Regions from separate parts of the Homo sapiens genome. Here all the other regions are linked to region 1. The links are contacts of gene promoters, found by promoter capture Hi-C in blood cells and fetal thymus (Javierre and others, 2016). All regions are on one chromosome and are shown on one strand. The core of a region is centred on a gene start or on the middle of the fragment in contact, and the rest is flanking DNA. Distances in the headings are between cores, read along the strand shown. Region 1 holds the start of ANAPC2 (anaphase promoting complex subunit 2). Region 2 holds the start of LCN6 (lipocalin 6). Region 3 overlaps LOC107987143 (a long non-coding RNA gene). Region 4 overlaps RABL6 (RAB, member RAS oncogene family like 6). Region 5 holds the start of TRAF2 (TNF receptor associated factor 2).

Region 1 (3,792 bases), core at 880-3,379:
GTCTCTCTGGGCTGGGTCCTATGCTGGCCACCAGGGTGTGGCAGAGAACAGGACGAGCAAGCAGAGCTCCTGAGAGGAGGGTGAGCCGTGGGCCAGTCAGGGGAAGAGGACCGGCGGCCCTGCTGGGGAGGGCTCAGGGTGGGGCTGGCCTGGGGAGGGTGGGCACCCTCAGCGGTGTCCCTGAGGCTAGTGGGGCAGTCACAGGGAGGCCACTCCAGACCCTCCTCCCTCCTCTCCCAAGGGGGAGCCTCAGGCTCTGGCTCTGCAGGTGTCTGGCAGCCCCATGCTGTTGATACGGGCAAGCAGCAGGCTGGCACGGATCTTTACAAAGATAATCTTTATTCATAATCACAGGCCACAGGGGTGAGACCTGAGGTTTGGGTTCTGTGGTGAAGGAGAACCCCTGTCCTCCTGTCCCTTGCCCTGGGCCTCTGCTGGCTGAGGAGGGACAAGGTGAGGGGGCCCCCATGGTGCTCAGACAACCAGAGCCTCCCTGGCAGGGCAGGAGTGTGGGTGCCACAGAGACAAGCCCCTTGCAGAGCTGACCTGGAGCCCACCATCCCCATAGCCTGTGTGAGCATGAAGCGAGGACCCCCGGGTGGGCTGTGCCCTGGGCTTGTCACTGATGCCAGTGGAGGCTGGCACCTGCCCCTCTCGGCACCTGAGACAGTGAGGGAAGGTAGCTGCTGCCGTGAAGAACAAAGATGCTCTGAGCACACACTTGCTGGGGCTGAGCTGAGGGGCACACGGAGGCAGGCCCTGCCCGTGGTCTGGTCAGCTGTCCCTGCCGCCGCTACTTTTCTGGTCTGGGGCTGTAGCCTTGGTCAGGTTCCCAGCTTCCCTCTTGAGAACGCTGAGCAAAGTCTGGGAGCTCTCCAGGATCTGGGGCCAGAGAAGTGAGAAGGTTGTTAATGTTCACCTGTTGGTAAGGTCCTAAGCCCCAGCTGTCCTCACACTCAGGTGCTGGGACCTGGCTGGGGGTGCTGTAGCCAAGGGATCCTGTGTGGGGGAAGGCGGAAGCCCAAGGGGACTGGCAGACGGGGTGGCAGGGCCCTCTTCCCTCCGGAATCTGACCCAAAACACTTCCTCTCCACCCTCAAAGCCAGGCTGGGTTAGCACTGGCCCGTGCTGGGTGCTCTGCCCAAGACCTGGCTCTTCACACTGAGCAGAAATAACCACATGGCTAGCGAGAACCGGATAAAGACCAGGACCCAGGATGCCCCAGGCCCCACAGACAGCCCCACAGTCACTCCCACAGCAGCCTGGGTTCCTCAATGGGCCTGGCCACGCTGCCCCTGCCCGAAATGCCAGCGAGGCACAGACTGCCCACAGCCGGGAGCCCCAGCCGGTCCTGACGCCTTGCCGTGGCAACACCCCTGCCGTGCCTATCCCCTGATGCTCGGCCTGGCCTCCCGAGCTCCACCTTGAGGTAGGCGGCCTCCGTCTCCGCGATGGTCCGGTCGAACTCGTTGCGAGAGGCAATCTTGCGTGCCAGGTTCTCGTTGACGCGGGCCAGCTTCTCTGTCAGCTGCCTCACCTCATTCTGCAGCCGCTGCTTCTCGTCCTCCTCCTCCTGGATCTGCCGGCACAGCTCCTCCCGCTTCTGGCACAGCTCCTCTATGCCTGGGGGCCGGGAGGGGCGGCGCTGTGGGCCCAGGGCAGGAGCGCGGCGGCGGAGGGCGGGCCTCCTTCCACCCGAGGAAGCCAGAGTCAGGCACCACCCCCGAGCGCCCGGCGCGGGGCCTGCGAGCCAGCGAGGGCTCGGGCCACGGACACCCGGCCTCCGGCACGGAGGGCTCTGCTCAGCCGCGCGATGCCCGCAGCGAGGCGGGTCCAGGGGCACCCCGCTGCGAGCCGGGAACCCGGCCCTGCGGCCCTCCCGACCTCCCCGTCCCGGCTGCGCCGCTCACACTTGACCAGCTCGTTGTTGTAGTTCTGCAGCGCCGCGCCCTGCTGGGTCATGGTCAACGCCGCCCGGGGCCCCACCACCCCAACCGCCGCGGAAGCAGCGCTGTCCGCGCCTGCGCACGACTCCCCCACGGCGCGCCGAACTAGCGCGTCATCGCTGAGCGCCTTGTGCGCGTCATGGCTGCGCGTGCAGACGTGCGTCATCGCCGCGCGCCGCGCCGAGCGAATCTCGGAGTCGGTGGGTGCAGATGGCGGCGGCAGTTGTGGTGGCGGAGGGGGACAGCGACTCCCGGCCCGGACAGGAGTTGTTAGTGGCCTGGAACACCGTGAGCACCGGCCTGGTGCCGCCGGCTGCGCTGGGGCTGGTGAGGCCTGGGAAGAGAGGGGCGGCCCCGCGCGGAGTTTCCGGGACCGTACGCGCTTTGGGGCCGCTACCCTCGGGTTCATACGGCTCTGTCCATCATCCGCCTCTGTCCTGTCCTGCCATTTTCCACCACCTTTCCGTTTCGTTTCGTTCAGCTCCGCTGACAGCCCTTCCATAGCTTCGGCCCAACGTCCGGGCAGCACGGACAGGGGGCAGCGGAGTTTTTGCAGCCTCCCCCTCAGCTTCTTCCCTTCCCCGCCTCTCCCCACCTCTATGTTGTGTTCCCCTCGCCTCACGGTTTTCTGCACCCCAGGTGTCTTCCCGGACCAGCGGTGCAGTCCCGCCAAAGGAAGAGGAGCTCCGGGCGGCGGTGGAGGTTCTGAGGGGCCACGGGCTACACTCGGTCCTGGAGGAGTGGTTCGTGGAGGTGCTGCAGAACGATCTGCAGGCCAACATCTCCCCTGAGTTCTGGAATGCCATCTCCCAATGCGAGAACTCTGCGGATGAGCCCCAGTGCCTTTTGCTACTCCTTGACGCTTTTGGCCTGCTGGAGAGCCGCCTGGATCCCTACCTGCGTAGCCTAGAGCTGCTGGAGAAATGGACTCGCCTGGGCTTGCTGATGGGCACTGGTGCTCAGGGGCTGCGAGAAGAAGTCCACACTATGTTGCGCGGAGTCTTGTTCTTTAGCACCCCCAGAACCTTCCAAGAGATGATCCAGCGTCTGTATGGGTGCTTCTTGAGAGTCTATATGCAGAGTAAGAGGAAGGGGGAAGGGGGCACAGACCCGGAACTGGAAGGGGAGCTGGACAGCCGGTATGCCCGTCGCCGGTACTACCGGCTCCTGCAGAGCCCGCTGTGTGCAGGGTGCAGCAGTGACAAGCAACAGTGCTGGTGTCGCCAGGCTCTGGAGCAGTTCCATCAGCTCAGCCAGGTCTTGTGAGTAGTCTGTCCCGATGGCCATGCCCTTGCTCCTTCTGGTTCCCCGCTGCTCCCCTGGGTCCAGCTGGCCTCAGCAGAAAGCTGGTGAGCCGTCCTGATAACCAGGAACATGACAGAGAGAGAGTCCCAGGGATTCCTGTGCAGCGTGTCCTGGACACAGGTGTCTCTCTTCTGTCACTCACCTTCAGTCCCACAGATTCATGCCTTGACCCTGGTAAGGCCCTATGTGGCTTGTGTCTGCAGCAGCAAATTTCTTAGCAACTCCAAACTTCCTGGACTCTGCAGAATTCCACTGTGCCTTTTGTCGATCCTGGGGAGGAATGATTCTCACCCTCGTCGACATTCCTTGCCCTGTAATTGTGAACAGAAGCTTGCTGCTGCTTCTCTCCAGGAAGATCAGGTCACTGTGAGGGCAAGCAGTCTCTTGTTAGTTTGGAGAGGAGAGGGGTTTGTTGTGAGAGACAGGTCCTGTTGTAGTTCTCTAGCAATTGTCATACCCTTGGCCATTTGTGGTGGTTTTGTCACATTGAACGGGGGTGTAGCCATGCAGCTACTTGAGAGGTCTTAGGTGGACTAAAGGT
Region 2 (3,792 bases), core at 423-2,922, 440 kb after region 1:
CCGGCTAATTTTTGTACTTTTACTAGAGATGGGGTTTCACTAAGTTGGCCAGGCTGGTCTCGAACTCCTGACCTCAGGTGATCTGCCCGCCTCGGCCTCCCAAAGTGCTGGGATTATAGGCATGAGCCACCACACCCGGCTGATGTAGCGTGCTGTTTTGTGGCTGCCTCGAGAACCAGGCTCCCCGCAGCCCTTAGGGACACTAGTGGGGCTGGCAGGTGTTTCCTTCTCAGAGGCCTGGCCCAGCTGCTCGGCTTCCTCCTTTTTGTATTTTTATTTTATTTTAGAGATGGGGTCTTGCTCCATCACCCAGGCTGGAGAGGAGTGGCACGATCACAGCTCACTGCAGCCTCAACCTCCTGGGCTCAAGCAATCCTCCTACCTCAGCTTCCTGAGTAGCTGGGACTACAGGAGCACGCCACCATGTCCAGCTAATTTTTAAACTTGCTTGTAGAGACGAAGTCTTGCTATGTCGCCCAGGCTGGTCTCAAACTCCTGGACTCAAGTGATCCTCCCGCCTCAGCCTCCTGAAGTGCTGGGATTACCGCGAGCAGCCACGGCTCCCTCCTGAAGGCTCCAGGCCTAAGTGTCCCGCTCCCTTGTTCTGTGGCTCAGCCCCTGGGCAACTCCTGCTTGCCATGGCTGTGGCTGGCACCTCCGTGGCCCCACTGCCCGGTCAGTCTTCGCAGGCCCAGCCCCCAGTAGCTGTGTGGTTTCTGCCTTCCTCCTGCACTCTGGTGGTCACAGGCCCTGCTGCGTGGGTACAGGGCAGGTGGCCAGGGCTGCAGCATAAGCTCTGTGAGTGCAGGCGGCCCTGGGCACTGGAGCCTTGTTGCATGGACGTGCTCCTTGCACCCTTGTTGATGAATGAGCGAAGGTGTGTGGGAGTGAATCCCAGAGGGTGCAGGCCACGGCACTGGGGGAGGACCCTCCCGGCTGCCTCCCAGTGGGCTTCAGGGGCTCAGATAGACCCTGCCGAGCACCTCTGTCCTCTGCTCCCGGACTGGGGCTGCAGAGAGCTCTCAAGGGGCCTTGGGAGGCACAAGCAGGCCAGGGTCCCAGGGAGGGGAGGCAGGAGGCAGCAGGGCCGGATGGTGGGCTGCAGAGGTGGAAGGAACAGGACAGTCTGTTCTGGGGGTGCTGGCTGTGGGGGACAGAGGCCAGGCCACAAAGCAGAATGGTGGGTGGGCCAGGAGGAGGTGGGAGCCTTTTTCAAAAGGCTTTCAGGGACTTTTTATATTTAATGATTGAAACAAAAGATATCCAAAACCGCAGTTCCTGAGAACCACTTGTTCTCGCCCTGGTTCCTCTCCTTGGGCTTGACCTTGGCCTCCTGCCGGGCCTGGCAGCGGACAGCAGTCTCCCTGCTTCCCAGGCTGGGCGAGGGAGAGCGTGGGTCCCCAGGAACGGGGGAGGTGGTGCGGCTGGCTTTAGGATGCCCATTCTGGAACCTTCTGGTGGAAGAAAGCAGGGGATCAGTATAGTATGGTTGATCCACACACTCCAGACCCTCTCCTGGCTGTGCAGCTGGTCTGATCTGGGCTCAGAGGCTGCCACTGCTCAGTGCTCCCCTGGGTAATTTTGCAGGAGGCCAGGAGGGTTCCTGGCAGTTAGTGCCACCCACACGGAGAAATTCAGAGCCATATAAACGGGTCTCCAGGGCCTGGAGGGACTGCACATCCTGGGCCTGCGGCGCAGTGTAGACCTGGGAGGATGGGCGGCCTGCTGCTGGCTGCTTTTCTGGCTTTGGTCTCGGTGCCCAGGGCCCAGGCCGTGTGGTTGGGAAGACTGGACCCTGAGCAGGTACAGTCCTCCTGGGGGTGGGGAGAGCTGGTCCTCGGGGGCCAGCCCCTCCTTTAAGGCCACACAGCTTCTGGGCCCCCCAGGGCTAGCCCAGACCAGCATGAGCAGTGGGGAATTAGTTGGGCCAGCCCTTGGGGAGTCCCACAGGCAGGAGCCTCAGGGCAGGAGGGGTGGATGCTGGAGGGTTGGAGGCTGGAGGGCTGGAGAATTGGAGGCTGGAGACTGGAGGTTGCAGGGCTGGAGGGTGTAGGGTTGGAGAACTGGAGGCTGGAGGGCTGGAGGCTGTAGGGCTGGAGAACTGGAGGCTGGAGGCTGCTGGGCTGGAGGCTGGAGGGCTGTAGAACTGGAGGCTGGAGGGCTGGAGGCTGGAGGGCTGCAGAACTGGAGGCTGGAGGGCTGGAGAGCTGGAGACTAGAGGCTGCAGGGCTGCAGGCTGGAGGTTGGAAGGCTGGAGGGCTGGAGCCTAGAGGCTGTAGGGCTGGAAGGCTGGAGGCTGGAGGGTTGGAGGTCTGGGGGGTTGGAAGCTGGAGGCTGGAGGGCTGGAGAACTGAAGGCTAGAGGCTGCAAGGCTGGAAGGTTGGAGGCTGGAGGGCGGGAGGGTTGGAGACTGGAGGCTGGAGGGCTGGATGGTTGGAGGGTGGAGGCTGGAGGCTGCAGGGCTGGAAGGCTGGAGGCTGGAGGGTTGGAGGCTGGAGGCTGGAGGGCTGGATGGTTGGAGGGTGGAGGCTGAGGCTGGAGGTTTGGAGGCTGGAGGCTGAGGCTGGAGGGTTGGAGGCTGGAGGCTGGAGGCTGGAGGGCTGGCGGCCCTAACGGGAGCCGCCTCAATGCAGCTTCTTGGGCCCTGGTACGTGCTTGCGGTGGCCTCCCGGGAAAAGGGCTTTGCCATGGAGAAGGACATGAAGAACGTCGTGGGGGTGGTGGTGACCCTCACTCCAGAAAACAACCTGCGGACGCTGTCCTCTCAGCACGGGTGAGTGGGCGGGTCCTGCCAGGCCTTCCCGCAGGCAGGACTGTGGCTCAGCCACATCATGTACTTTGCACATCTGCTCCCGGGCACCGCGGCCTGGGGGCTTCCCACGGCCCCTCTGCACCCCCGTCACTTTTCCCACTGGGCTCTGTGCAGAGCCACCAGCCCTCTGCCCAGCTACTCACATCTGTGTCCCTGGGGCCTCCAGGTGGCACTCCCACCTTCAATACCGCGGCGGGCACTGCTCTGACTATGCTCCTTCATGCATCCCTGTCCTGGGTCATCTGGGCTGCAGGCTGTGGTCAGAGCTGGGGAAGCCTGTCCTCTCAGCAGGCCTTTTTCGGGAATTCTGTTTAAAGGAGGATAATGCATTCGGACCTAAGAACCACTGGTTCTTTCATAACATAAATCCCCAAACAATATGGTCATGGACGCTGTTGGCCAGACTGGCCTTGTGGCCTCAGGCAGGCGCACCCGACCACATGCATGGCTGGTGGCGGCGTGCAGGGGTCGGGTGGGCCAGGCTGTGGGGCGGCCGTGCTACACAGGGGACACCTACAGGGCAGCCGGGCTGTGGGGGTAGCCGTGCTGGGGCAGGAGTCGGTGCCCGCCTCCCTTCACAGAAGAGTGGCCTGCTGGGTGGCGTGGTGGGTGTCTACCCCCTGGCAGGCTGGCGACAGAGCCCAGGCCTGAACCACTGAGCCAGGTACGGGGCCCAGAGAGAAGAACCTGCCCTCCTCACCAGCGTGCCTTCCCCCTGCACCTGCGCCTGCAGGGTATGGGCAGGGGCCCCACTGCACCCCCCGGGCCAGGCCTGGCCTCAGGGCGAGCTGGGACCAAGGGGCTCCAGGCTGAGGTGGCAGCTCCCACGTGGCTTTCCTAGTTCTTCTTGCTGTTCCTCCCGCATGGACTCAGCCTCAGTTTCCTTCCTTGGCAAACACCATTGCACCTTTGCTGGGTTTTGCTCACTCTGGGGACTGACCACTTAGGGAGCGCCGGCCCCTTCCCCCGAGTCGCAGGCA
Region 3 (3,792 bases), core at 826-3,325, 420 kb after region 1:
GGTGGAAGAATGGAGGGACGCCACCAGCACGCGGAGGGGAGCCATGCAGATGAGGCTGCGTGAGTGAGGAGGCTGCCCAGGGAAGGGGAGGGGGCTCGGGGCCCCCTGGTGTTGTCGTGCAGGGCAGACCCCCTCAGCAGGGCAAAGAGAGAGAGGAAGGTTTTTCCTCCTCCTCTGAGGGCAGAGGTCTCGGGTTAGGAAGTGCTATTAGGGGCAGGGTGCAGTGGCGGGGGCCTGGGACACTCGGGGTGGGGGCGAGGCCTGGCGTGGGGGAGACAGATGAGTGGCAGCCCTGGCTAACCGAAGCCATTGGGAATTTATTGGAAGAATATCTGAGCTCAGAGGATTAGCGGAGGCTGGAGAACAAGCAGGTGGGGACTGGAGCAGCTCTCAGGGCAGGAGCCAGGAGCCCAGCAAGAGCTCAAGGGGAAGGGGTGGCGGGGGGAGCAGTGCATGGAGGGGTAGCGGGGTGGCGGGAGGGCCAGTGCATGGGGGGGTGGCGGGGGGCAGTGCATGGAGGGGTGGCGGGGTGGCGGGGGGGCAGTGCATGGGGGGTGGCGGGGTGGCGGGGGGGCAGTGCATGGGGGGTGTCGGGGTGTCGGGGGGGGCAGTGCATGGGGGGTGGCGGGGTGGCGGGGGGGCAGTGCATGGGGGGTGTCGGGGTGTCGGGGGGGGCAGTGCATGGGGGGTGGCGGGGTGGCGGGGGGGAAGTGCATGGGGGGGTGGCGGGGTGGCGGGGGGGGCAGTGCATGGGGTGGTGGCGGGGGGCAGTGCATGGAGGGGTGGCGGGGTGGCGGGGGGGCAGTGCATGGGGGGGTGGCGGGGGGCAGTGCATGGAGGGGTGGCGGGGTGGCGGGGGGGCAGTGCATGGAGGGGTGGCGGGGTGGCGGGGGGGGCAGTGCATGGGGGGGTGGCGGGGGGGGCAGTGCATGGGGGGGTGGCAGGGTGGCGGGGGGGGGCCGTGCATGGGGGTTGGGGTGGGAGGGGACTGAGCTCTGAGAAAGGACCCCAGTTCACTATGTCAAAAACGAAAAAAAGGCAAGGCGCAGTGGCTCACGCCTGTAATCCCGGCACTTTGGGAGGCCAAGGAGGGCAGATCACCTGAGGTCAGGAGTTTGAGACCAGCCTGACCAATATGGTGAAATCCTGTCTCTACTAAAAATGCAAAAAAAATTAGACGGGCATGGTGGCTACTGTTATCCCAGCTACATGGGAGGCTGAGGCAGGAGAATCGCTTGAACCCGGGAGGTGGAGATTGCAGTGAGCTGAGATTGCACCACTGCACTCCAGCCTGAGTGACAGAGTGAGACCCCGTCTTAAAAAACAAAACAAGGCCAGGCACGGTGGCTCATGCCTGTAATCCCAGCACTCTGGGAGGCTGAGGCAGGTGGATCACAAGGTCAGGAGATCGAGACCACCCTGGCTAACATGGTGAAACCCTGTCTCTACTAAAAATACAAAGAATTATCCGAGCATGGTGGTGGACGCCTGTGGTCCCAGCTACTCCGGAGGCTGAGGTGGGAGAATGGCGTGAACCCAGGAGGTGGAGCTTGCAGTGAGCCGAGATTGCGCCACTGCAGTCCGCAGTCCCGCCTGGGGCGACAGAGCGAGACTCCGTCTCAAAAAAAAAAAAAAAAAAAAAAAAAAAAAAGAAAAAAAAGAAAAAAGAAAAAAAGAAAAGAAAACGAAGAAAAACCACAAATAAATAAAAGTTGAGGTATGATGTATGCACAGCTGCATTCGCCCCTTTGAGGGCACAGTTGTGTGAGTTTAGACAAATGCAAATGTTCATGGAACCACTGCAAGTGCGACACAGCAGCTCTGGTGCCCACAAAGCTTCCTCGAGGTCCCTTGCGGTCAATCACTGCCCGCACCTCAGCCCTCAGAGCCACTGGGAAGCCCCCTGCCCTGTGGGCTCACCTGTCCTAGAACGTCGTATAAAAGGAGTCGCAGATCGCAGCCTTTTCCACCTGGCTTCTGTCCCTCTGCAGGGTGCACCTGGGATTCAGCCACCTTCGTTCCTTTTACTGCTGAGTGTCCATCACGTGCTGCTCATGCAGAAGTGCTCAAGTTCGCTGTAAACGTAGTTTTCATTTCTCCCGGGTGGAGACCTCCATAAGTAGGTAGGTTGGTGGAATGTTTCACTGCATGAGAGTCTGCCAGGAAGTTTTGCAGTGTGGTCCCGTCTTGTTCTTCCCGCAGAGGGTGATAGCTCTGCTGACTCCCAGCCCTCACAGGCTCTAGGGATTGAGCCTGTTTCTGTGGAACGCCTTCCATGGTCTGCGAGGTGCACAGAGGGGTCTCAAAAAGCTTCCAGGTTGCATCTTCCCATGGACTGATGCTGAGCGTGTTCTCATCTCCCATCCGGATGTTTTCTTTGGTGGAGTATCTTTTCAGATCTCTTGCCTTTTTATTTTTATTTGTTTATATATATATTTTGAGACGGAATTTTGCTCTTTCACTTAGGTTGGAGTGCAACGGCGCGATCTTGGCTCACTGCAACCTCCCCCCACCCACCTCACTTTGGGTTCAAGCGATTCTCCTGCCTCAGCCTCCCGAGTAGCTGGGACTACAGGCGCCCGCCACCATGCCCGGCTAATTTTTGTATTTTGAGAAGAGATAGGGTTTCACCATGTTGGCCAGGCTGGTCTCGAACTCCTGACCTCAGGTGATCCACCCGCCTCGGCCTCCCAAAATGCGAGGATCACAGGCGTGAGATGCCACACCTGGCCTCTTTTTATTTTTAATGGAGTGGCTTGTTTTCTTATTACTCAGTCTTGGGAGTTCCTCATGGATGCTGGATTTCAGTCTCGTCTCAGGTGTATGCGTTTTGTAGATGTTTTCTGTAGGGACCAGCCCCACAGGGTTGGTGAGTTTCTCCCTGTGTGCTGAGATGAGAGGGCATAGAAATAAGGACACAAGAAAAAGACATAAAAGAAAAGACAGCTGGGCCTGGGGACCACTACCACCAAGACGTGGAGACCGGTAGTGGCCCCGAATGTCTGGCTGTGCTGATATTTATTGGATACAAAGCAAAAGGGACAGGGTAAAGAGTGTGAGTCATCTCCAATGATAGGTAAGGTGACGTGAGTCACGTGTCCACCGGATGGGGGGCCCTTCCCTGTTTGGCAGCCAAGGCGGAGAGAGAGAGAGAGAGACAGCTTACATCATTATTTCTGCATATCAGAGACTTTTAGTACTTTCACTAATTGACTACTGCTATCTAGAAGGCAGAGCCAGGTGTACAGGATGGAACATGAAGGCGGACTACGAGCGTGACCACTGAAGCACAGCATCACAGGGAGACGGTTAGGCCTCTGGATAACTGCGGGCAGGTCTGACTGATGTCAGGCCCTCCACAGGAGGTGGAGGAGTAGAGTCCTCTCTAAGCTCCCCCGGGGAAAGGGAGACTCCCTTTCCCTGTCTGCTAAGTAGCAGGTGTTTTCCCTTGACACTGACGCTACTGCTAGATCACGGTCCGCTTGGCAACAGGTGTCTTCCCAGACGCTGGCGTCACCACTAGACCAAGGAGCCCTCTGGTGGCCCTGTCAGGGCGTAACAGAAGGCTCGCACTCTTGTCTTCTGGTCACTTCTCACTATGTCCGCTCAGCTCCTATCTCTGTATGGCCTGGTTTTTCCTAGGTTATAATTGTAGAGCAAGGATTATTATAATATTGGAATAAAGAGTAATTGCTACAAGCTAATGATTAATAATATTCATATATAATCATGTCTATGATCTAGATCTAGTATAACTCTTGTTATTTTATATATTTTATTAAACTGGAACAG
Region 4 (3,792 bases), core at 774-3,273, 380 kb after region 1:
CCAAGGAGGCCGCGGAAGATGGTGAAATTGAGGGAAACAAAGGTAACTTGGACTGGGCCAAACCTAAGGGCGAAGGTGGCTTTGGGGTTGTGATGGAGGTAGAGGAAGCTTTGGAGGATGAGGTGGTGGCAGAAGCCAGGAAGGCTTTGGTGGGCGAGGCAGCTTCTGGGGAGGCAGAGGTGACCACAAGCCACAAGGAAAGAAGACAAAGTTTGAACGGCTTCTGTCCCTTTGTCTTTCCCTCTCCCATTTGAAAGAAAGGACGCTGGGGTTTTTATTCCGTTACCTGATCAATGACAGAGCTCTCTGAGGACATTCCAAGACAGTCTACAGTCCTGTGGTCTCCTTGGAAATTCGTATAGACAACATTTCAAGGGTAATACCTTCCTTGTTTGTTTTGACTGGATATTCATATAAACTTTTCTTTCTTTTCTTTTTTTTTTAAGACGAAGTCTCACTCTGTCGCCCAGGCTGGAGCGCAGTGGTGTGATCTTGGCTCACGGCAACCTCTGCCTCCCGGGTTCAAGCGATTCTCCTGCCTCAGCCTCCCGAGTAGCTGGGATTACAGGCATACGCCACCACACCTGGCTAATTTTCATATTTTCAGTAGAGATGAGTTTCATCATGTTGGCCAGGTTGGTCTTGAACTCCTGACCTCATGTAATCCGCCCACCTCAGCCTCCCAAAGTGCTGGGATTACAGGTGTGAGCCACCGTGCCCGGCCTGCTAAGTCCCATTTCTAAATTCGCACCAGTGTCTACTCAGAGAGGACTCTGGTTGTCCGAGCTCCTGGGCCAGGCCAGTATCAGAGCTGCACAATAATGCTCACTCAGGAGCAACTCCACAGAAAAATTCTGCACCAAATACAACTGATATTTTGTGTCCAGTCACAGTAGAAAGGGACAGACCAACTCAGGCAACAATCTTTCTTCCAAATAATTTCAAATAATTTTCCTAATAATTTTATATGCAAATAATTTCAAAATTGTGTAAACCAAAATTAAAATCCCAAGGCCTGCCAACCATCTGAATGGACTTCCTCTTCTAGGCCAGGGCCATCCAAATTTCATCTGAAAGACTGGTTCAGGCCATTATGGGAAGAGGGGAGTCAGACAGGCCTCATTGTGGCCTCCTCCCTTCTGGAATTCAGGAAAAGCTCACCAGCATTTAACATCAACACTGACTTTAAGTCTGATAAGAAACATAATCTGGCCAGGCGCGGTGGCTCACGCCTGTAATCCCAGCACTTTGGGAGGCCAAGGGGTTCGGACTGCTTGAGTAGAGGGGTCTGAGCCCAGCTGGGCAACGTGGTGAAACCCTGTCTCTCTAAAAAATACCAAAATTAGCTGGGTGTGGTGGTGCAATTGTTTTTTTTTTTTTTTTTGAGACAGGGTCTGACTCTGTCACCCAGGCTGGAGTGCAGTGGCACAATCTCAGCTCACTGTAACTTCTGCCACTTGGGCTCAAGCGATTCTCCCGCCTCAGCCTCCTGAGTAGCTGGGATTACAGGCACCCACCATCACACCCGGTTAATTTTTATAGTTTTAGTAGAGACGGGGTTTCGACATGTTGGCCAGGCTGGTCTTGAACTCCTGGCCTCAGGTTGTCCGCCTGCCTCGGCCTCTCAATGTGCTGAGATTACAGGCGTGAGCCACCGCGCCCGGCAAAAAAACACAATTTTTTTAAACTACCTCCGACCTGGAAGCCCCCACTTCAAGTTGTCCCGCCTTTGTGGACCAAATCAACATATATCTTAAATGTATTTGATTACTGTCTCATGTCTAAAATGTATAAAACCAAGCTGTGCCCTCCACCTTGGGCACATGTCCTCAGGGTCACCTGAGGGCTATGTCACGAGCCATGGTCACTCATATTCAGCTCAAAAATAAATCTCTTCAAATATTTGACAGAGTTTGACTTTTTCATCCATTATGGTCCAATGTCTCATTCGAGTTTTTATTCTAAAACCAGTGGGTGTCCCACACGTCTACCGGGACCACTAGCAACTCCGAGCAAATGCAGGGCCCAGGAGGAGAGCCCAGACTCCTGGAAACCCGCAGCAGTTCCCAGAAACTCTCACCCCCAAAACCCTCGACTCTGTCTTGATCACATTGCTGGTCTGTTACGCTCTGTAAAATATTTGAGAAAATAAATACCAGAAAGCCGGGCATGGTGGCTTACGCCTGTAATCCCAGCACTTTGAGAGGCTGAGGCGGGCAGATCACGAGGTCAGGAGATTGAGACCATCCTGGCTAACACGGTGAAATCCTGCCTCTACTAAAAATACAAAAAATTAGCCGGGCGTGGTGGCCGGTGCCTATAGTCCCAGCTACTCGGGAGGCTGAAGCAGGAGAATGGTGTGAACCCGGGAGGAGGAGCTTGCAGTGAGCTGAGATCACGCCACTGCACTCCAGCCTGGGAGACACAGCAAAACGCAAAACTCTGTCTCAAAAAAGAAAAGAAAAGAAAAGAAATACTAGAAACTTTCTATTCTAACACAGAAACTCAAAAGTTTTAAAATTGCATGTTATTCAGCTATAAAGATAACATCTTTCTAAAATGTAATTTAGGTACAAATTCAAATTTCTCTCTGTCTCACCACCTTTCATTCAGTTCTAGGAGATCATAACCTGTTCTCCAAGTACTGGAGACTGGCTTTTCTCCTCTGGAAGGACCCCATTGCCCTTTTTAGTCACACTCGCCCAGGACCACACAGGGGTGGTCCTGGTGCATGAGGTGGACCTTGCCCAGGACCCTCGGGGAGCCTTTTCAGAAGGTGAACAGTTTCCAGGTCCAGGCCTGATTTCCCAGGGACTAATACTGAGCTTAGCCAATACTGTAAGCAATAAAATTAAATAAAGGATCCAAACGCAGAGTCTAAAAACTGGCGTAAACTCAGTTATTTTGACTCAATATTCTCTTCTCCGAATGCCAGCTATGTATAAAGTTTCAATTATAACACATTTAAAATCAGCTTTTATTTTTATTCAAAATGCACCACTTTATTTTCCTTACCAGACAGCCAAGCATTAAGCACGTTCCAGTCACGTGACTTCTTCAGCGAGCCCCCAGGCTTCCACTCCACGGGAGTCTGGGAGCTCCTGGACAGAGGAGTCCTGAGATTTCAAATAGTCAAGCCTTCTCCCCAGCCACAAGTTCCTTTGATGCTTGGGTTACTGAACACAAACGCAATGGATTGTTTGTCTTCAACATAATCCGTTTCTGTTCCTAAACGTGTTGGCTGCGCTTTCTTTCTGATGAGCACGCTGACTCTAATTTGAACTTCATCAAAATCTTCTTTGTCGTCGTATGTTCTAGAGTATAAGAAAAGCCAATACGGCCCTTGGTTCGGACATCAACTTTCTTTTAAATTTTTTTTTCGTATTTTTAGTAGAGACGGTGTTTCACTATGTTGGCCAGGCTGGTCTCGAATTCCTGACCTCGTGATCTGCCCGCCTTGGCCTCCCAAAGTGCTGGGATTACAGGCATGAGCCACCGTGCCCGGCCCGGACACCAACTTTCATACCTAGATGCTCAGACTTATCTTTAAGAAGTTGTTTTATCTTGCTTACTGCTAAAGGTGTCTGGGTGAGGGTGGCCCGAGTGGTCTGCAGCTTCCTCTTGCTCACAGGCCGGGGGACTAAGGAAGGCGACATCTTCACTGTCCTCCTGGACTAGCTCCAGCCCCAGGAACTACGGCCTCTCTCCGTGCACACGGCACGCGAATTCATGAACTTGCTTTTAAACCTGCACAAGAGTCTTTCTGATCATTAGTTCTTAAAATTCTACATT
Region 5 (3,792 bases), core at 1-2,500, 300 kb after region 1:
AAAACCCCGGACCGTGCCCTGGCGCTGCTCCGAGCACGGCCGCGCGCGTTCCCGAACTTTCCCGCGCCAGCCACGCTCGGACTTGGTTTCCGGCCCAGCGGCTCAGAGAAATCCCCTCGGGCTGGCCCCGCCCCCGCCCCGCGGCCTCTCCCGCCCCCGCTCCCGCTCCGGCCCGGAGTCTCCCTGAGAGGTGCCCGCGCCTGCGCCCGACCCCGCGCCCGACCCCGCACCCGACCCCGCGCCCGCGCCCGACCCCGCACCCGACCCCGCGCTCGCCTCACCCAACGGTCGCAGCGCGCCCGGAACTAAGGGCCCGCCCAGCTACCGCCCCCAACGCCGCCGCCGCCGCCGCCGCTCCGCCGCGTGCGCCTGACGGACGGACATGGGAGCCAACCAGCCAGCCCTCAGGAAGCTGTAGCGAGAGCCATTGGCCAGATACGCCCCGCTCCGAGCGCGCCTGACGGACTGACGCCGGAGCCAACCAGCGAGCCCGCAGGAGCCGCAGCGTGCGCCGATTGGTCGGCGCTGAGACGGCGTGGGTACCTAAGTCGCCCTCTGCTTTTTCCTCAAAGAGCGCGCCGGGGCGTTGGTGCGGGGAGCTGGTGAGGTGCTGCGCTGTGGGGTCCGCGCTAATTGGGTCCCTTCCCCAGGTGCGGCGAGACAGCGAGGCCCTTGCTTCCCCTCCCGTGGCCCCGGGGCGGAGACCCCTGCCGCACACCCGAGAGGTGAGCCGGGAGCCCAAGCCGGGCGACACCGGTTCCCACGAGGCGCGCGTCGCGCGCGGGACGCGGGGCCCTGGCGGGGCGGCCGCACCTACCCGACACCTGCGGGTCCCTCCGCCTCCCCCGGTGCCGGGCGCAGAGCGGCGCCTCAATTTGGGTAACATTTATGAGAAACAGGACTAAAAGAATACTGCACACTTAAGTAAGGTATTAAGGCTATGGGGTCTCCTTTTGGGGTGAGGTAATGCTCTGCAACCGGACAGTGGTGACGGCCGCCCGACATGGCCGGTGTGCTAATCTACTGGGTTGTGCACTTTATTTATTTTTTTTTTTGAGACGGAGGCTCACTCTGTCGCCCAGGCTGGAGTTCAGTGGCGCGATCTCGACTCACTGCAACCTCCGCCTCCCGGGTTCAAGCGATTCTCCTGCCTCAGCCTCCCGAGTAGCTGGGACTACAGGCGCCCGCCATCACGCCCGGCTAATGTTTGTATTTTTGATAGAGACGAGGTTTCACCATGTTGGCCAGGCTGGTCTTGAACTCCCGACCTCAAGTGAAAACACAACCTATGGCCTCCAGACACTCAAATGAAAACAGTGGCCTTGGCGGCCAAAACAGGGGCTGCCCTAGGAGTCCTGTGGGCTGCATGGGGGAGGCGGCACTGTCATCTGCCCAGGAGAACGGGAGCTGCAGCAGGTTCTCTCTGGCGGTGCACGGGCTAGCACTGGACACACCACCCCCTCTCCATCCAGCCTTTGGTGAAATGGAGACCTTTCACCCCGCTTTGCAGAGAAGGAAACGTTCACGGAGGTAAGTCTCCTCCAAGCATTCAGACCCTGAGACCACGGGACTCCTCAAGGATGGAATACACTGCAAAACAGGGCAGGCTTTGAAGTTGCATAATTTACACAGGCCACGCTGTCCCCAGGCGCCAATGCCACATTTCATATATGTTACTTGGTTTGCAGTTGGAATTCCCCTCCGCCCCAAACCCACATTCCTGGGACAGCAAGGCCTTGAGATGGAACTCAGGAAGCCATCGGATTCCATCAACGTCATCACCCCTGAGTTTGCTGCAAGCAGCCATGGAAACGTCCCAAGTCCGCACCTGCAGGCTCAGTGAGGTTGCTCAAGCCCAGGAACTAACTGAGCTCTCAAACGTAAGAAGGCGTCTCCTCCTGGCTGCACCTGGGAGGCTCAAAGCTGTCCTGAGTCTGCAGCAGCCAGCTCGGGATGAGAAAGGGTTCACGTGGCAGTTCATGCCTATAATCCCAGCACTTTGGGAGGCTGAGGCAGGAGGACCGCTTGAGCCCATGAGTTCGAAACCAGCATGGGCAGCATGGGGGAACCCCATCTCTACCAAAAAAAGGAAAAAAAATTTAGCTGGGTGTGGTGCTGCACACCTGTAGTCCCAACTGCTTGGAAGGCTGAGGCAGGAAGATGACTGAAGCTCAGGAGGTGGAGGTTGCAGTGAGCTGTGGTTGCACCACTGCACTCCAGGCTGCGCTATAGAGTGAGACCCTGTCTCTTTTTTTTCTTTTTTGAGACGGTGTCTTGCTCTGTCACCCAGGCTGGAGTGCAGTGGTGCGATCTCGGCTCACTGCAACCTCTGCCTCCCGGGTTCAAGAAATTCTCCTGCCTAAGCCTCCGGAGTAGCTGGGACTACCGGCGCACACCGCTACGCCCGGCTAATTTTTTTTGTATTTTAGTAGAGACGGGGTTTCACCGTGTTGCTCAGGCTGGTCTCGAACTCCTGAGCTCAGGCAATTGCCTGCCTCGGCCTCCCAAAGTGCTAGGATTACAGGCATGAGCCACTGCGCCTGGCTGACCCTGTCTCTTTTAAAAAAGAAAAAACAGCCAGGCACGGCGGCTCATGCCTGTAATCCCAGCACTTTGGGAGGCCTAGGCGAGCAGATCACCTGAGGTCAGGAGTTTGAGACCAGACTGGCCAACATGGTGAAACCTCGTCTCTACTAAAAAAATACAAAAGGCCGGGCGCGGTGGCTCACCCCAGCACTTTGGGAGGCCGAGGTGGGCAGATCATGAGGTCAAGAGATCGAGACCATTCTGGCCAACATGTTGAAACCCTGTCTCTACTAAAAGTACAAAAATTAGCTGGGCATGGTGGTACGCGCCTGTACTCACAGCTACTCAGGAGACTGAGTAGGCAGGAGATTCACTTGAACCCGGGAGGCGTAGGTTGCAGTGAGCCGAGATTGCGCCACTACACTCCAGCCTGGCGACAGAGCAAGAATCCATCTCAAAAAAAAAAAAAAATACACAAAAGGCCCGGCACAGTGGCTCATGTTTGTAATCCCAGCACTTTGGGAGGCTGAGGTGGGTGGATCACCTGAGGTCAGGGGTTCAAGACCAGCCTGGCCAACGTGGTGAAACCCTGTCTCTACTAAAAATACAAAAATCAGCTGGGCATGGTGGCAGATGCCTGTAATCCCAATTACTCAGGAGGCTGAGGCAGGAAAATCACTTGAACCTGGGAGGCAGAGGTTGCAGTGAGCCGAGATTACGCCACTGCATTCCACCCTGGGTGACAGAGCAAGACTCCATCTCAAAGAAAAAAGAAGGGGTTCACCTGTTTTAGGACACTCTACTTCCTTCAGGGTAACGGGAAAGTCATTCTAACAGCTTTCAGACAGTGGCCTCCAACATGGGGTGACACACCTCACTGGTCCTGGATGATGACAGTGTTGAAGGGCTGAGTCTGAGACCACCTCAGCCCCACCCCAAGTCCAGAAAAGGTTTCCCAAGCTTGGCAAATGCCCACAGCCCTCGAGAGCAGGTAGTGACCAGGATGACTGCCCCGTGCCGCCCAGTCTCAGAGTACTTGCCCCAGTGCTGCTCTCATGAAAATGCCTTTGTTTAATTTATACTGCTCTGTTTCCAGAAGATTGGCACAGACACGTAAAAAAAAAACTGGCTGGGCATGGTGGCTCACGCCTGTAATCCCGGCACTTTGGGAGGCTGAGGTGGGCAGATCACCTGAGATCAGGAGTTCAAGACCAGCCTGGCCAAGGTGGTGAAACCCCGTCTCTACTAAAATACAAAAATTAACTG

Evidence for each region. Contacts are between HindIII fragments. The CHiCAGO score rates a contact against its expected background, and 5 or more counts as called.
Region 2: the fragment with the promoter of LCN6 here is called in contact with the fragment with the promoter of ANAPC2 in region 1 in 4 of 17 cell types (naive B cells, total B cells, M1 macrophages and 1 more); the score reaches 7.2 in naive B cells.
Region 3: a contact is called between a fragment that was not itself captured here and the fragment with the promoter of ANAPC2 in region 1, in 5 of 17 cell types (endothelial precursors, naive B cells, activated CD4 T cells and 2 more). The highest score is 7.2, in endothelial precursors.
Region 4: a fragment that was not itself captured here is called in contact with the fragment with the promoter of ANAPC2 in region 1 in 9 of 17 cell types (naive CD8 T cells, fetal thymus, naive CD4 T cells and 6 more); the score reaches 8.7 in naive CD8 T cells.
Region 5: a fragment that was not itself captured here is called in contact with the fragment with the promoter of ANAPC2 in region 1 in 2 of 17 cell types (naive CD8 T cells and erythroblasts); the score reaches 5.5 in naive CD8 T cells.

The regions. Positions count from the first base shown.
Region 1 is chr9:137,186,897-137,190,688 of GRCh38, reverse strand. It overlaps ANAPC2 (anaphase promoting complex subunit 2), which reads left to right and starts at 2,129. Exons shown (of 13, transcript NM_013366.4): 1 at 2,129-2,273; 2 at 2,586-3,208. The coding sequence starts at 2,157. It overlaps SSNA1 (SS nuclear autoantigen 1), which reads right to left and starts at 2,013. Exons shown (of 3, transcript NM_003731.3): 1 at 1,911-2,013; 2 at 1,424-1,623; 3 at 323-882. The coding sequence starts at 1,962. The coding sequence ends at 775. RefSeq lists a silencer at 1,622-1,971 and an enhancer at 2,002-2,221. The HindIII fragment of the contact is 11,278 bases long and covers 1-3,583 here.
Region 2 is chr9:136,746,405-136,750,196 of GRCh38, reverse strand. LCN6 (lipocalin 6) reads left to right here and starts at 1,672. Exons shown (of 7, transcript NM_198946.3): 1 at 1,672-1,803; 2 at 2,634-2,773. The coding sequence starts at 1,714. It overlaps LOC100128593 (a long non-coding RNA gene), which reads right to left. Exons shown (of 3, transcript NR_033913.1): 2 at 1,625-3,119; 3 at 286-1,451. It overlaps MIR6722 (microRNA 6722), which reads left to right and starts at 3,227; the gene lies at 3,227-3,304. The HindIII fragment of the contact is 9,973 bases long and covers 1-3,792 here.
Region 3 is chr9:136,766,349-136,770,140 of GRCh38, reverse strand. It overlaps LOC107987143 (a long non-coding RNA gene), which reads left to right. Exons shown (of 3, transcript XR_001746981.2): 1 at 1-59; 2 at 1,992-2,380; 3 at 2,467-3,792. Among named protein-coding and RNA genes, the nearest start is that of LCN15, 3.7 kb to the right of the region's middle. The HindIII fragment of the contact is 474 bases long and covers 1,839-2,312 here.
Region 4 is chr9:136,809,210-136,813,001 of GRCh38, reverse strand. The region is part of intron 1 of RABL6 (RAB, member RAS oncogene family like 6); the gene reads right to left. It also overlaps the pseudogene LOC100422233 and the pseudogene NCLP1. Among named protein-coding and RNA genes, the nearest start is that of CCDC183-AS1, 2.3 kb to the right of the region's middle. The HindIII fragment of the contact is 3,825 bases long and covers 111-3,792 here.
Region 5 is chr9:136,883,031-136,886,822 of GRCh38, reverse strand. It overlaps TRAF2 (TNF receptor associated factor 2), which reads right to left and starts at 307. Exons shown (of 11, transcript NM_021138.4): 1 at 282-307. It overlaps MIR4479 (microRNA 4479), which reads right to left and starts at 90; the gene lies at 20-90. It overlaps LOC105376326 (a long non-coding RNA gene), which reads left to right and starts at 569. Exons shown (of 3, transcript XR_930448.2): 1 at 569-725; 2 at 1,473-1,530; 3 at 1,689-2,043. RefSeq lists an enhancer at 1-346 and silencers at 1-532, 753-882. The HindIII fragment of the contact is 4,476 bases long and covers 1-3,488 here.